Linked DNA regions of Homo sapiens: region 2 is linked to region 1. The links are contacts of gene promoters, found by promoter capture Hi-C in human tissues and cell types (Jung and others, 2019). All regions are on one chromosome and are shown on one strand. Each heading gives the region's core, a stretch centred on a gene start or on the middle of the fragment in contact. The rest is flanking DNA. Distances are from core to core; before and after follow the strand shown.

Region 1 (2,700 bases), core at 92-2,591:
TGGCTGCATTCAGGAAAGTACATTGGCAATAATACAGGAGCCCTCCAGGAAAGAGAAACCTCCCTCAGACACCGCAAAGATAGTGGTAATAAAATGTAGATAACTCAGAGATGGGAACTTTGGGCTTACTGTGCTATTCCTCTACTTCTTGATATTTTCCGTAATAAAAGGTTCCTTAAATATATAATTTTAAACACGTGGGTATTTCTAGTATTTTATAATAATTCACCTTTAGGAAATGGTATCTGAAACCCCAAAATGCCAGAAGGTTACCTGGAAGAGAACTGGTGTCCAAAAGCAGGACGGTGGCCATGGGCATTGACCCACAGGTGCCGTCTGCCAGTTCACCATCTCACTAACAAATGCCAACCATTCGGGCACTACTTGCTTCTATTAAAATAGTTTCTAGGCCAGACACGGTGGCTCATGCCTGTAATCCCAGCACTTTGGGAGGCCAAGGCAGGCAGATCACGAGGTCAAGAGATCGAGGTCATCCTGGCCAACATGGTGAAAGCCCGTCTCTACTAAAAATACAAAAATTAGGTGGGCATAGTGGCGCACGCCTGTAGTCCCAGCTACCTGGGAGGCTGAGGCAGGAGAATCACTTGAACCTGGGAGGTGGAGGTTGCAGTGAGCCGAGATCATGCCACTGCACTGCAGCCTGGTGACAAAGCGAGACTCCATCTCAAAAAAAAAAAAAGTTTCTAGTCTTATTATTTCAACATTTCAAAAAGTGTTTATTTTTATAAGATCTAAGTGCCTTAATTAGATGTATCCCAGGTATTAGTGTGTATCCCAGGTACTAGTCAATTAATTGTGTCATTCAAATGTGTTACTATTAGTCTTCCTTATTGTACATTTTTAAAGAGGAAAATATCTGCTAATAAATATACTCAGGATGCCAGGAAGCCTACCACGGGAGCTGATGACATACCCTATAAAGTCAAAAATGTAACCTGAAGGAAAAAGACACTCCTGAGAGTAAATCTTATCTCCTGGGAAAGACAGCAGCACTGTCTTCTATGGATGCAGAAAAGGAGAAGATTTAACACACTAAGCCCTTTGGTTCACTATAATTTAGCCCATTTGCCCGTTTCTTTGTTCTATTTCTGCATCTCTACCGATGTATGCAAAAAAGACTGAAATAAAGAACCAGAGGAAAGGCAGGAGGGAAAGCTGTGGACCCACCTCATCTTGGTTGGTCTTGCCTCTGGAAGAGCAGTGCTGTGGGGCATCTGCTGGTCTTTTTATGCTGCCACTAGCTCACTTCTCCCCCTTCTCCATTTCGTAATTCCTGTGTCTACAAACTTTGGCCCTGGTAAGGTCACTATCTTTTCCAGTAACAAAACCACAAACAATACCCCTGTTAAGAGTTGAGCTCTTGCTTCACACTTGATTTTCTTGTGATGTTCTATTACAAATCCCAAGAAACCTGGCAACTCTATGACCCACAAACCTGCCAAAGTATTTCCTGAAATCAGCAACTGGGCAGGACAGGGCGGCGGCAGGAACCATCAATCTGTCTCTTTATCTTGGAGGATTTTCACACTGCAGAAAGGCTCATTTTGAGTTTTTTCAAACCCATTGTAGACATTTCTGCAGCCTAGCTTAGGTGGGGCTCTAAAGAAAGTACTTCCTTTTCACAGTAATTTTCTCCACCTTGTGTGTGGCCATCTCCCTATTGCTTAAAAGCTCTCCAGCCTGAAATCAGTAAATGTGTTTATTGTGTCTTCTCTGATTGCTCTTTGCAAGAAATCACACAACTAGTTAAAGCTATAGTGTAGACTGACACAGACTATACTCAATGGCAGTGGTTCTCATGGTTTTATAGTCTGGTGATTAGCCTAAATAGGCAGATGAGAAAAATCAATATGTCTCAGTCAAATGTCTGCACCTGTGTGTATCCCAGGTACTAGTCAACTGAAACTTAGTAGCAACTCAATACAAGGTTGATTTATTCATTAAAAAGGGTTAGTTGTTCTTAAATTAGAGTGTACAAAAGAATTACTTTTGGATAATCATGGTGACACTGATATAATAGCAAAGTAACTAGAAACAAGACAAATGCCCATCAACAGGAGGAAGGGTCAATACTGCATTGTATGTGGATATAATGGAATATTATACAGCATAAAATGAATAAACTCTGCAAGAACATGGATCATCTTATAAACATAATTTTTGAAAGAAAACCGCAAGTTTCAGAAGATTACCTTCAGTATGATGGCAGTCTTCTAGAGATCAAAACCAAGTAAAACTTGGCAATGGATTCTTAGATAATGACACCAAAATCACCAGCAATCAAAGAAAAATTAGATAAATTGGGCTTCATCGGAATGAACATTTGTGTATCAAAAGACAGTATTAATAAAATGAAGACAGGCCAGGCGTGGTGGCTCACGCCTGTAATCCCAGCACTTCGGGAGGCTGAGGTGGGCGGATCATGAGGTCAGGAGTTTGAGACCAGCCTGACCAATGTGGTGAAATTCCATCTCTACTAAAAATACAAAAATTAGCCAGGCATGGTGGCGCATGCTTTAATCCCAGCTACTCGGAGGCTGAGGCAGGAGAATTGCTTGAACCTGGGAGGCAGAGGTTGCAGTGAGCCTAGATCGCACCACTGCACTCCAGCCTGGGTGACAGAACAAGACTCTGTCTCAAAAAAAAAAGTGAAGACAGTCTACAGAATGGGAGAAAATA
Region 2 (2,700 bases), core at 114-2,613, 130 kb after region 1:
CTGTAAGTAAAAAGACCCAGGGCTAAGATGCATGTATACCAACCAGCCTAATCCTCACCTCACTATGCGAAGTTAGCTCCTCTCATTTTACAGGTAATATTGAGGGAAAAAAAGGTTCAGAGCAGTTAAATGATTTTTTTCAGAGTCACAAGACACATCAGAGGACCCAAGTCTCTCTTTCACATTCTCATTACACATGACCCAGATGCTGGCAAAAGATGATACTGCTGCCTTCCACAGTTCAATTCATCCACCCTTCTCCCCACCTCACTTCCAACCTTCACAAATGACACGAGGCATACAAAGTGGGGAAGTGGAGTCAGGAATGACAGTAACCAGAGGAATTGGGCAGGTGTAAGGATTGGACCACACTGCCAGCCACACAGCTGTCCTCCTCACCCCACTATGAAAGGTGAAACCCCATACTGAGCAATACAGTGGTACCCACTAGAATTGCCACAAGCAGTACAATAAACTGCTCCCACACACTGCCTTCATGTTTACCAAGTATGTTCATTACCCTGTCATTCACAGTTCCAATCTGGTTGGTCCTACATAGCTTGCCATATTCCTTGCTATACTTGGCACAGAGCTGATCAGCAACCTAAAAAGAAAAAGGACAGCAAATAAAAATAGAGACCACTCCAACGGACTGCTTTAAGCTTCTTCCTGGCAACAGTAAACACGCGTCTATTACAAGATTTCCAAAACACTGGAGTCTGCAAAACCTTAAGGGGTATGCATTAATCCACTATTTGTTCATCCATCCATCCATCCATCCAATGAGCAGCACTCGAGTGCCAAACACTATCATGAGTATTATACAATATAAATAAAATGAACAAAACAGATACTGTTCTTACTCTTATAGAGTCTTACATTAATCAAATTGTACAAAGTAAAGTTTCCTCTTCAAAATTTCCCTTGTTAAAGAATAAATCATAAGTGTTAGAAATAAGCTTCTTTTAAAAGACTAACTTCCTTCAAGCCTCCTTGCTTTGTGCTAATAACTCTTTGTTAAGCCGTATCCTATGTAGCTGTTAAATATAAGAAATACATTCTATGTCCTTGTACTTTAACCAAGATATCTGTGCTAGATGTGCTCACAGGCAAGTCCCAGCTCGCAGCCTATGCCCCTTCCTTATTTGGGAATGTTAGTACTTTTCTAAGTCTTCTCATAAGCAAGTTCCTCTTTTCCTTTGTTCTCCCTTGCATATATCTATTTTAAAAACTTTTAAAACCTTTAGCCAAACGGGTGTAGCCCAGACTGTGAGGTCCAGTTCCAGCCAATGGAATCAGGACACAGCAGTAGGGTCCAGATGTGTAGGATATAAATATTTTTACCCCCTTTGTTCAGTGTGCGCTCGCCATTGTTCCATCTGCAAGGAGCACCCTTTCTGCAGAAGGTAAAAATTGCCTTGCTGAAATAAATTTATATTTGAGTGCTATTTCTCTGTGGCACTGGGGAACAAGCATTTCTAACAAAATAATCACACAGATAAAGGTACAACTGCAACTACAGTAAGTGATACCAAGGGAAGGTGCACCATGCTATCACCAGCTTCTAACAGCAGAATCAAATCTGATCAGAAAAGTCAGGTAAGGCTTCCTGAGGGAAGTGATGCTTTGCTGAGATTTAAAGGATGACTAAGGCCAGGCATCGTGGCTCATGCCTGTAATCCCAACACTTTGTGAGGCTGAGGCAGGCTGATCACTTGAGTTCAGGTGTTCAAGACCAGCCTGGGCAACGCAGCAAAACCCTAGTCTCTATTTTTAAAAGATACAAAAATTAGCTGGGCATGGTGGCACGCACCTCTTGTCTCAGCTACTCAGGGGGCTGAGGTGGGAGGATGATCAGTTGAGCCCAGGAAGCCGAGGCTGCAGTGAGGCAAGATCGTGCCACTGCACTCCAGCCTGGGTGACAGATCAAGACCGTCTCAAATAATAAATTAAAGGATGACTAGGAGTTAACTAAATAGGGAAGGAAGCACATTCCAGGAAAAGAAAACAGCAGTGCAAAGGCCTCTGGCAGAAACAAACATGGTCAGTTCTCAAGCCTGCAATCAGCCAGTGAGCCTCTAGTGCAGAGGCCAAGGAGTGTGGTAAGAAATGAAAAAGGGAAGTGGGAGCCAGACAATGCAGGACCATGTAGGCTGTATCAGGGAGTTTTGTTTCTATCACAAGAGCAACAGAAAGCTACTAATGGGCTTTAAAGCAAGAGGTCGTGACAGGATCGGAGCTGTGTTTTGGACAAAACCCTCAGGTGGTTCTGATGGAATGGTGTGAATAGATTAAAAGAAGCCAAAGTAGGAATAGGAAGAATATTCAAGAAGCTACTCTCATTTCCAGACAGGAAACGACAGTAGCATTGGACCAGAGTGGTCCCAACATTCCAGAAGCCCAGTAGGAGAGTTCTCACTGTTCATTATGAAGACTTTCAGGGGTACCTGACACCTATGATATAAATGGCATTTGTCTTTTATGGTTTTTGTTTTGGCTGGTTTATACTACACAGAGATTTTTTTATTCACATTAATTTATCACTCTGTTTATGGCTTTTGAGTTTTGTAACATATTTAAGCCTTTTCCAAAATTAATTTTAAAGGAGTACAGAAGAGACCAAAAACGGCTCAACATGGTGGCTCACGCCTGTAATCCCAACACTTTGGGAGGCCGAGGCAGGCGGATCACGAGGTCAGG

What was found. Contacts are between HindIII fragments. The study calls those that stand out against the background at their distance.
Region 2: a fragment that was not itself captured here is called in contact with the fragment with the promoter of HP in region 1 in 1 of the 25 tissues and cell types used here (liver).

What each region holds. Positions count from the first base shown.
Region 1 is chr16:72,053,146-72,055,845 of GRCh38, reverse strand. It overlaps HP (haptoglobin), which reads right to left and starts at 1,341. Exons shown (of 7, transcript NM_005143.5): 1 at 1,189-1,341. The coding sequence starts at 1,193. The HindIII fragment of the contact is 10,372 bases long and covers 1-2,700 here.
Region 2 is chr16:71,918,643-71,921,342 of GRCh38, reverse strand. IST1 (IST1 factor associated with ESCRT-III) reads right to left here. Exons shown (of 10, transcript NM_001270975.2): 5 at 521-604. Among named protein-coding and RNA genes, the nearest start is that of IST1, 24 kb to the right of the region's middle. RefSeq lists an enhancer at 1,831-2,010. The HindIII fragment of the contact is 3,427 bases long and covers 1-2,700 here.